Linked DNA regions of Homo sapiens: region 2 is linked to region 1. Evidence: promoter capture Hi-C in 16 types of primary human blood cells and fetal thymus (Javierre and others, 2016). All regions are on one chromosome and are shown on one strand. The core of a region is centred on a gene start or on the middle of the fragment in contact, and the rest is flanking DNA. Distances in the headings are between cores, read along the strand shown. Region 1 holds the start of CFAP90 (cilia and flagella associated protein 90). Region 2 has its middle 110 kb from the start of LINC02123.

What was found. The method cuts DNA at HindIII sites, captures the fragments that hold promoters and counts their contacts. A CHiCAGO score of 5 or more calls a contact.
Region 2: a fragment that was not itself captured here is called in contact with the fragment with the promoter of CFAP90 in region 1 in 2 of 17 cell types (M1 macrophages and M2 macrophages); the score reaches 5.7 in M1 macrophages.

Annotation. Positions count from the first base shown.
Region 1 is chr5:7,848,706-7,854,397 of GRCh38, reverse strand. CFAP90 (cilia and flagella associated protein 90) reads left to right here and starts at 3,265. Exons shown (of 3, transcript NM_001089584.3): 1 at 3,265-3,523. The coding sequence starts at 3,377. It also overlaps a transcript of MTRR not described here. The HindIII fragment of the contact is 6,768 bases long and covers 2,938-5,692 here.
Region 2 is chr5:7,237,526-7,243,316 of GRCh38, reverse strand. No RefSeq gene overlaps it. Among named protein-coding and RNA genes, the nearest start is that of LINC02123, 110 kb to the left of the region's middle. The HindIII fragment of the contact is 184 bases long and covers 2,135-2,318 here.

The sequences.
Region 1 (5,692 bases), core at 2,016-4,515:
ATACTCCTTAATAAACTCCCATATAAAAAAATATATATAATATATATCTTTACATAGATATATATATACATCCTATTAGTTCTGTCCCTTGAGGGAACCCTCACTAATACACTATGTTTAACCCAGCCCCAGTGTGTGTCCTTACTCTATTAATTTGCCTCCTTTGAGAGGAGGGTTTTTATGCTTCTTTCATCCTCCCCTTCTCCGGCACAGAACTTTTGAGTACGAGTACAGACATGAGGAGCCTAAATGTATGACTCTGTGACCTTGTATTCCACTCATGTACCTGGGAATATATAATAAGATCATATAGGAAAATACTTTTTTAAAAAGAGTATTTTTAAAAAAGGAACTAAAGCCTCTTAATAATCAAAATTGCCAAAGTCTGCCTTGCCCATGGTTTCATCTGTCTCTGGTAACCTGCCCTGCATCCTCAGGGCCTCACATCTCATTCCACCCTCATCTCTGGTGGACCATTCCGTGGGGCTATGACTCACCTCATGAAAGAAGCATCTCACCTCCAGTACATGCCCCTGTCTTTTGCTGTCAGCCCTAGGGCTCCTCGGACACCAAGGAGGCAAGACACTCCAGGGGAGACTGTGAGGCCCTGGGGCAGTGGTCGTACAAGTTCAGGAGTCAACAACTGAAGGAGCGAGCCTCCACCGAGCAGACAGGAGCAAGTGATGAAACATGCCTCCATGTTGATCCTCTGGGGCAATTCTTCAAGGCCTCTCCAGGCCCCTCAGAAAGGTTCATGACCATTCACCAGTTGCCTTCAGCAGTGACCTGGGTAGTGCATCCTTGGTGTCTCTCCTGCTTCTTGCTCCTCTTGGTCCCTCTCTCCTGTTCCCTGGAATTACCTCCCAAATAAACTCAGGCCCTTGTCTCAGACTCAAATATTTGACTTCCTACTGTATGCCTGTATGCCTGACTTGAGCCATCTGTATAAGTTTGTTCTCATGCTGCTATAAAGAAATACCTGAGACTGGGTAATTCATAAAGGAAAGAGTTTTAATTGTCTCACAGTTCAGTATGGCTGGGGTGGCCTCAGGAAACTTACAATCACGGCAGAAAGCAAAGGGGAAGCAAGGCACCTTCTTCACAAGGTGGCAGGAAGGAGAAGCACTGAACAAAAGGGGAGGAGCCCCTTATAAAACCATCAGATCCTGTGAGAATTCACTATCACAAGAACAGCATGGGGGAAATGGCCCCCAGGATTCAATTATCTCCACTTGGTCACTCCTTTGACATGTGGGGATTATGGGGATTACAATTCAAGATGAGATTAAGGTGGGGACACAAAGCCTAACCATATCTCCATCCAAGAAGAAAAAGATGTAGGTAGCCTTGCCCTCAAGAGCTCTTGGTCTAGGACATGACAAAATGTCACCGACTGAACTGAAGTTAGCAGATTCACATCTGTATAACTGTGTAAACTTTACTAATTTCTTTTACTAAGAAATTATCTCGGTCTCAGTTTTAGCTGAATTCCCAAGATAATTGGTTTCAAGTACTTTCACTTTCCAAAGTATGATACTGGGTCACCAATGCAAAGCTTACAAAATCTTGTGACCATTAGTTGACCTCTCTTGTGTATTTGGAGACATTGAGAGAAGTTGAGAGAGGCAGTAGATTATAAGGGCTTAAAAAAAAAAAACATATTTGGCTGCTGCTTTAATGAGGCCAAAAAAGCAAAAAAGTATGAGTCATGCCTTTCATGACTTCAGCCCATGGGAGAAAAATAAGAGCCCCTTTTCCTTTGCTTCACATGTAGGAGAGATGGTGCTCCATCTCCAAGCACCAGGGATATGTCACCCTCTCCAAGTGGCTCCAATGAGGTTGCTAGGTCCCCTGGGGCTTAGAGACATGGTGGGCAGGTGTCTGACCCTTGACTCATGGCTGACTTGTGTTCTGCCTGGCCATGGAGCAAAAAGATGTGTTAGTGGGACAAAGAAGGCACATGGGTTTCTCAGGAAGCTCATGGGGACCCACGAGAGAGACAGATATAAATAAAAAGAGAGAGAAAAAGCGTGGTGGCACCGGGATGTCTTAAATCCTGCCCAGAAGGATCTCTAGAACTCTGGAGACCTCTACAGAGTGGATCACCAGGTGCCTCAGAATGAGAGAGGCATCTTAAGCCACCAGCCTGCATCACAGAATGGCAGACAAGAGATTCCTACCTAGTTGCAGGGATGGGGAAGAAGGCAGGGCACTGCTCCTTCCATCATCTGTAAGATCTCTCCATCAGGCCCCCACCTATCTGTTCACCTTCACTTCCTACCAGTTTCTGGCTTCATGAGGCCACACCACCCCACTTCCTGCTGCCATTCAAACACAAGATTGTCTCTGCCTCAGAGGACCAAGTTGGCTTGGAAGGGATTGCCAGACTCACAGAACTGGCTTCTCATTATCGCTATGCTTCATCTCAAACACCACCTTCTCAGCAAGGCTGGCCTTCCCAGGCACGCTGGCTAAAGCATTTCCCAAGCCTTGGTCATCATGGCTTTTTTTGTTTGTTTGTTTTTAACTTTTCTTGGCTGTACACCCACCAATCACGAGTATACAGCTTAACACATTTTCAACAAACGGAACGCAGGTATTGACCCAGCATTCAGATCAAGGGCCAACGTAAACACACTGGCAAAGGATTGCAAGAGCCCTGTCCACAGCAGCTGAGTTCTGCCAGATTCTGTAAATTCATGCAGCCTTACACCTGCACTGGCCAATACTGTAACTGCTAGCCACACGTGGCCACCGAGAGCTTGAAAGGCAGCTAGTGCCATTTGTTGAAATGATAACGTTTTGGACTTACTGAGTCAAATAAGAAACGACACACGTGGCTCTCATCATGTTTCTATTGGACAGCGCTGCCCTGGAGCCTCGGCAAGTCATTTGGCTTCTTCGCGTCTTTCATGTGTCTTCTCCAGACTGTAAGCTTCCTGTGGACAAGGCCTGCTCCGTTCAAGGCTCAATCTCCAGCTCCTGACACACCATGCGCTAGGTGCTCAGTCACTAATGGTCTCGCGAAGGAGTGATCAGTGAGTGAAGCAGGGGCTGCTGCATGGGAAAGGTGAGCGGGCTGGAAATGGGTAGTCCCCGCGGCGTCTCCCAGTCGGGCTCCTCCCGAGGAGGAAGGAAGGAGAGACCCCAGGTGTAGTCGAGGGGCCGGGAGGGAGGAGGGGAGGGTCGCTCCACCCTGGAGCGGGAATGCTGCAGGGCAGCTCCGGGTCGCCAGGCGGCGGTTTCCAGGCAACGACCGAACACAGACGCGGGCTAGACGCTGGCGCTGAGCAACCTGAGGCCTGCAGACTCCGACTGGGCCCCTGGGCGGGCGGGACGGACCGCGGCCAAGGCGGGGGCGCTGGACGGTGGCGGCATGGAGGACGACGAGGAGGAGACCACCGCGTCCACGCTGCGGGGCAAGCCCAGGCCGCCGCCCGTCTCGGCGCAGTCCGCCTTCAGCTACATCCCGCCGCGGCGCCTGGACCCCAAAGAGCACAGCTACTACTACCGCCCGGCGCGGGTGAGGACCGCGGACTGGGCGCGGAGACCGGAAGGCTGGGCGGCTGGGCGGCTGGGCGGCTGGGCGGCTGGGCGGCTGGGCGGCTGGGCAGGGGCGGGCGGCCGCGGAGGGGCGGGGGAGAAGGGATCACCCCAGCGGAAGGGTCTTGGGGCGGGGCTCTCCCTCGGAGGGAGGGCGTAGGGGCGGGGTTCACCTTAGGGAAAGGGGCCTGGGGGCGGGGCTCACCTTAGGGGCGGGGGCCTAGGGGCGGGGCTCACCTTAGGGGAGGGGGCCTGGGGGCGGGGTTACCTTAGGGGAGGCAGCCTGGGGGCGGGGTTCACCTTAGGGACTGGGGCCTTGGGGCAGGGTTCACCTTAGGGGAGGGGGCCTGGGGGCAGGGATGCGCCGCCGGGGACTGGAGAGAGGAGCTCACAACGAGGAGGGGCCCTGGGAGGGGCTGCACCGCTAGGGATCGGGGACAGAGCTCACAGAGTAGAGGGGCCCTAGAGGAGGAGCGCACCTTCGGGCAGGGACCCTGGGGGCAGGGCTTCACTACCAGGGGTGGGTTCCGAGGGGCGGGGCTGGACAGCCTGTGGAGGGGGCCGGGTGGGAGCGTGCGGAGATGAAGGGGGCGCGGCAGGGTCAGCTGGGGAGACAGGGAGGGTGAGCTCCCGCCAAGGCGCCTGGGCCCCAAAGAGTACAGCTCAGGCGACTACCAGTGTCAGCTGAACCCCTGGGACGAGGATGTGGGAGAAGCCGGGTGCGCGAATGGGTGTCTTAGCTGCGATCAGGGGCTGGGAGTCGCGGGAATGCTCAGATAGGACCCGGTGCTCTTCGGAGAAGGGAGCGGGAGCCACTAGGTGTCAGGATCCCTCAAAAGCACAGTGGCTCTGTCGGGACAGCAGGGCGCTCTTTCTGCCCAGGGTCTGGAGGGGGTCGCGGGAAGCCGGGGCCGCCCAGCGGGCTGGGCGCGGCTCCCTCTGGGGTCTGTCTGCGGCAGGCCCAGGCTAGCAAGGAAAGAAGGCCTTGCTGCCGGGACTACGCCCGGATGGTCCAGGGCGCGGGAAACCCTCTGCCCTCCTGCAAACCGAAGACCAGAAGGAATAGCTGGCGAGCCGCCTGCAGGGAGGGCTGGACTGAGAGTGGTCCCTCTGTTCTGTCCTGGCCACACCGGCCCGTGCATTTCCTGGGATGGGATCTGCGAGTCTGCGAAGGCCACTGGGCACCCTGCATCTCCCACCAGCGGCCAAAGGCAGGAAAAGTAGTAAATTCAAAGCCAGTTGAGGGTCATCTACTCCTTTCTTCTCACCATTGTTCCTAAATGTCCCCGGTTTGTCTTGCTCAAGATGCAGGGGCAGGGGAGTCATTACTGAAAAGGAGCATTCATTGAGGACCCTCAGCCTGCAGGCGTAACTGGGACAGGTCTTTCTAATTCTAGCTGTCCTGGTGGCTTGAGTGGGTAGAGAGGGATATAGATTAGCCAGGTGTCTAGGGGGAAGGAGATCGTTCCCTTATGGTGTATAAGGTGTTCCCAGAAAATGCATCCTTCCTTTCCCCACCTCCTGCCCCCACCATCCTAGACCCTAAATAAATTCCCCTTCTGACTGGGTTAGCACACACTGGCCTGCATGCCACACATAAAGTGTAAGCACTCTTGGACAGCCTCACCAACAGAAGCAATCGTGTTTCTAGTTTAGACAACTGCTGTCGGTTGAATTGTGTCCCCTTGAAATTTATGTTTTGGAGTCTTAATCCCCAGTACCTTAGAATGTGAACTTATTTGGAAATAGAATTTTACAGAGATAATCAAAATAAAATGAGGCCACTAGGATGAGCCCTATTCCAGTATGACTGGTGTCTTTGAGAAAAGGGGAAATTTGGATATATAGAGACAGACATGCATGTATTAGTCCTTTCTCACACTGCTAATAAAGACATACCCAAGACTCGGTAATTTATAAAGGAAAGAGGTTTAACTGACTCACAGTTCAGCATGGCTGGGAAGGACTCAGGAAACTTATAATCATGGCAGAAGGAGATGTAAATATGTCCTTCACGTGGCAGCATGAAGAGGAATGAGTGCACAGTGAAGAGGCAAGACCCTTATAAAACCATCAGGTCCTGTGAGAACTAACTCACTATCACGAGAACAGGATGGGAGGAACTGCCCCCATGATTCAATTATCTCCA
Region 2 (5,791 bases), core at 977-3,476, 610 kb after region 1:
TTGCCTATCCTCTTTGTCTTCAGTTTTCTCTTTTGCAAAATGGAGATGCTGTGGGGTTGTAGGGAGACAACAGATACCAACTGCTCAGAAAAAAAAAAAAAATGCTTCCAGGTAGGTCTTACCTGATTTGCTTATTATTTCCAGTATTACTGTTATTTTCTTTCCTGCCCCAAACTGCTCCTTTTTTAGCCATCTCTTTTGCAGAGAATGGCACCCCTAGCTGCTCAGGCTCCGTACCCAGAAATCTCTCCCACCCTCTCACGTGCATTGCTAAGATTTACCAATCATCTCCAAAGTCTACCTTCAATATACGAAGTTGCCTCTCTCTCTGGCATTCTCTCATCTTGCCTGGATTGCTGTGAGCATCCTGGGTGCCCCCCTTCCATTCTTGCGCACCCCAGTCCACTGGAGTGACCTGGATCACACCAGCCCTAGCATCAAAGCACTCAGTGGCCCATGTGGCTCAAATGAGACCCCTCACTATCACCTTCTGTGGCCTCTGGCTCTTCTCCTTAATTACCCCTCGCAGATCCTGTCATCTGCCTCAACCACCAAACTACAAGGTTCCGGAAGGCAGAGCAGAAGGGCTCGCTGTCTCTACTCTATCCCAACGATTAACATGCAATGGGCGCTCAAGAAACATATGTTGGAGTAAAAATTGAAAACTTCTACTTATTGAATTAATGTGGGCCCTCACTTCTCTTTGGAGCTATTCCTCAAAGTGGCTGAATCCAGTGCCTTTTCTTATTGTTCGTTTTCACAGCACAGTTCTCCTGGCTCTCAGCCCGCTAATGGCTTTCTCTCTGCTGGAGCTATTATTGAAGATTCCTTCTTCCTTTTTTTTTTTTCTTTAAGCGGCCAGGACCTACTTCTTTATCTGCCAAAACACATTCAGAATTGGGTGAACATGGCTCTTCTTCCATTAGACTCTTCCTGCCCCTCCTCAATCACTGGTAGCCTCTGCTTCCCATGAGTGCCCTGCCACGTCGTGCTTGTCCTTTGGAACTTGGCAACTTCTGCCTTGTTTGATACAGACATTATGCATGTTTGTCTGACCCCAATGGCTACTTGTTCCCACCAATCCAGGATGGCTCTGTGCAAACCATAGGCATTTAATATCTTCTATTATTTGTAGTTCTACTCTGGGGGCGAGAAAAGCAAAAGTGATGGCAACATGCTGGCCGTGAGGGACTCACGATGCTAATGCAAAGAAACAGCTCATCCTGCCCAGCTATCCCCGCTGACTTCATTCCAAAACATGTGCTGTGGTGTGGATACAGCTCCAGGCTAAGTTTTCACTGTTTACCTAAAAAGATTCATCCTATATTTAAAATGCTTACTTGATATGTGGTCACAAGTTTTTTCTTAAGATATATAGAAGATTGAGTCTGTCATATCTGAATAATAGTAACTAGTTAATAATCTGTTATAAAATAATCTGTTTTCAGCCATCTAAATATATGAGTTCTCTAGGAAAACAATGTTCTGTCTGTTTCTCAGCTTAACATAATCTAGCTTTAATATTGTCTAGCTTTTTAATATATTCTAACTTTAAATCTGGAAACACACACACACACACACACACACACACACACACACACACAGAGTTAATTGTGGCCGATTACATTTTTTCAAAACTCAGTCCATTTCCTAAAGAATCAAGAAGTTTAGGAGAGGTGACTTAGTAACAGAAAATTAACAGTTCACTTATTTTAAACCTTAAAAATCATATCCTACTTGTATTGCTTACAACAATAGTTATGGGAGCATTTTCTGGAATATTGCATCACTGCAAATTATAAAATGTATGGCCTTGGAAGAATATGAATGAGAATATATATTTTTTATCCTGGATGATGGAAAATTTACTCAGCAAAAATGTATTTTCAGGCTACTCTATTATGTTCTCTCTTCCTCTCAGTTCCACTGGGTTTTAAGGAATACAGATATATATTTATTATACTTTTCTCTATTTCTTTGCAGCTAACTTTCAATTGCTGCATGTGTTATTAATCTTTAGGGTCAAACTTGGTTTCTGTTTCATAAAATCTCTGCCAGGGTGCAAGAGATTATGGTCATCAGGAATAGAATATATAACATGAAAAAGTCCATTTATATTATTTCTAAGTAAGCTTATGTTGCTTAAAATATAGTCTTATCTGAGTGTGTCACTTACTAAATAAAGGTGCTGTGAACAACTAAATATTTGAATTAAAAATGTCATTTCTATCATGTTCAAAATCTTGACTCATAGGAGTCTTCCTATGAATTCAAAGACCCTAAGCATTGACTTAGCTAAGGTCACTGCTGTCAAAGCTTAGAGGCGAATGCCCTTTAGTTTCCAATTAAGTGAATGTTTTTGAAGAATGTGCACATGAGGCATAAAACAAGGAAGCAAGATAATAGTTACAGAAGACAAAGACATGTAGTGTGAATTACACCCTCATGTATCCTGAGCCACTGATTAAAATGCTTTAGTTAAAAATAGACAGATAGGGCTCACGAGCGATAGATAGACCAACAGATAAATCAATTGATTGTCACACAGGAAGGCAAGGTCCTAGAACAGCTACAACTATTTTGAAAAAGCAAACTGAAGTGAATATTTTACCCGATAACTAGGTAAAATATTATTTAGCCATTCAAAGAATGATATCCTGTCATTTGCAACATGGATGGAACTGAGGGCCATTATGTTAAGTGAAATAAACCAAGCACAGAAAAACAAATATTGCATGTTCTCACTCATACATGGGAGCTAAAACATGGATCTCATGAAGATAGAGAGTAGATTGGTGGTTACCAGAGGCTGGGAAGGGGAGGAGGATGAAAGGGATAAAACGAATATAAATCTATTTATTACCTACAACTGAACTGTACATTTAAAAATGGTAAAGATGGTAAAAGACATGTGCATGTTTTACCTCAATTAAAAAATAGCTTTTTTTTTTTTTTGGTGTTCAGATGAAACGGTTCTGAATCTTGACTGGTGGTGGATATGTGAACCTGCACATCTAATAACATTATATACAACTACACACACGCACGTGTGCGCACGCACACATGCAGAGAAAACTGGGAGACCTAAGACGGGTGGATCATGTCAATGTCAACATCTTTTTTATTATTATTATTTTTGAGATGGAGTTTCACTCTTGTCCAGGCTGGAGTGCAATGGCGTGAACTTGGTTCATGGCAACCTCCACCTCCCAGGTTCAAGCAATTCTGCCTCAGCTTCCCGAGTAGCTGGGATTATAGGCGCCTGCCACCACGCCCAGCTAATTTTTATACTTTCAGTAGAGACGGAGTTTCACCATGTTGGTCAGGCTGGTCTCGAACTCCTGACCTCAAGTGATCCACCCGAATAGCTGGGATTATAGGCGCCTGCCACCATGTCCAGCTAATTTTTGTATTTTTAGTAGAGACGGAGTTTCACCATGTTGGTCAGGCTGGTCTCGAACTCCTGACCTCAAGTGATCCACCCGCCTCGGCCTCCCAAAGTGCTGGGATTACAGGCGTGAGACACCACGCCCAGCAATGTCAACATCTTGAACATGAAAGTGTAGTGTACTTTTTCAAGATGTTCCCATTGGGAGAAGCTGGGTAAAGGATACGTGGGATCTCTGTGTTATTTTCTACAATTGCATGTGGATCTGTAATTACCTCAAAATGTTTAACTAAAAAATAAATGGTAGTTAGGTCCAGTTTTTATAAGCTAACTCCTTCATATATTGTATTGGGGTCAGCTATCTCTGAGAGAAAAATCATACACAGAAGGCAAAATTAAAGTGAATCACTCCAGTAAAACAAGTATAAAATGATATAAAATATGCTGAAGTTCTTTATCATGGCCAGCTCAATAAAACTAAATTAACGAAAAGATACAGTTTAGGTAGCTTGAAAAGCCTCTTGTTTAAGAAAAAAAAAAAACCTCAAATCATCTTGATTGTGAACATTTTAGTTGCTGTGATTTTCTAAGTTCCTTTTTAATTCCCTATCATAATGGTTTGGCATTCCTAATCTCTTGCTGAATCACGCATAAAATATTCATTCATTGGTTTTGTACTATTCACATTCTGGCTTAATAAGAATTTATGCAGCAAGACCCTGCATTGAATTGTGAACAATTAATTAATATTTCTGAAGTTTCTGCCACAAATTCTATATTTAGGACTTATTATATAATTCTCATTTTTCCGAAAAACAAGAACATCACGCATGCATATTACATATTTAGGAAAAAAATGTAGAATAGGGTGGAACTTGTTAATCTTATGATTGCTATGCATTCCACACGTGGCCCAAGCAATGCTGTTTCTTCAATTTTTAGAGTTTTAGCCAACAAAGGCACAAGGAAGGAGACCAGGAAGACAAAAGACAAGAGATAGGCAAGATATTTAAGTAAGAAAAGCCCCCAGCATTTCTTACCTCCTTCCAATTCCTAAACAGACACCTTGGGCCTTCTGCACTCCCATCCTCCATTCCCCACAGATCAGCCCAGTGTTCCCTTAAAATATACAGCAGGCCGGGCCCAGTGGCTCACGCCTGTAATCCTAGCACTTTGGGAAGCCAAGGCGGGTGGATCACGAGGTCAGGAGATTGAGACCATCCTGGCCAACATGGTGAAACCCTGTCTCTACTAAAAATACAAAAATTAGCCGGGCGTGGTGGCATGTGCCTGTAGTCTCAGCTACTCGGGAGGCTGAGGCAGGAGAATTGCTTGAACCCGGGAGGCAGAGGTTGCAGTGAGCTGAGATCGTGCCACTGCACTCCAGCCTGGGCTACACAGCGAGACTCACTGTCAAAAAAACAAACAAACAAATAAACAAACAAACACCATACAGTAAATTATTTCAGTGTCTCCTTAAAACCCACTGTGATGTTTTATTATGCTTTGAGTAATATCCACCTGCCCTATCAAGGCCAGCCGCTCACCCATCTCTCAGATGCTATCTTGGATGGCTAGACCAGCAGCTGTCTCAGCTTCAGCTGAGAGTCTCTGTTCTCTGCCTGACTGCTCCATCTGCAGGTTTCCATGGTTGTCTCCTTCCTATTATTAAGTCTTGGATCAGATGCTAGCTTCTCGGAGAGTCCTTCCTTGGCTATTCATTTAAAGGCAGGCCCCCTGGTCCCTTCTCTGTCACACTGCTCTGTGTGTCTGCTGTGCGTTTCCCCATTTTGCCCATTCATCTTTTCTTATGTATAATTTGTTTCCCATCTCTGTGCTCTCAATGAATTTAGCCCCCGTGAGAAAGGCCATCTACCTTTTTTACAAATATATTTACAGTACCTAGAAAAGTGCCTGATACGTGGTGTGGTAATACATAATTGCTGACCATCCAATAAATGAATAGGGCACCCTGGTGGATTTCCATATGCATCTTGAGGTGAATTACTATGAACAGTTAATAAGCAATTTACATGTAAATGATTCCTTATGAAAAGATGCCTTTCCACTTCTGAGGTGCAGCTCCTGGAGAACCAGGGCTCAAGAAGCCAAAGACAAGTCTACGGTTCCAGGTGCAGCAGGGCTCTGACCATTGGTTGGGACAGGGCACAGTGGCTGCTTCCCTGTTCCACTGTCTGGGATTCCAAACTACCCTACCCACTGCACCCAGGGGGTTGAGGCTGGCAGGTGAACACTCTCTGTCTCCCTCCTACACATCTGTGCACAGCTTTGCTCCTGTTTGCACCTCGTTCTCTGCTACTCTGAGGCAGGAGTAGTTCTCTCCATTCCCAAGCCTTCTGGCTTTAGTACAGACAGCATATCCTCCTCTCTGCTGGGCTCATG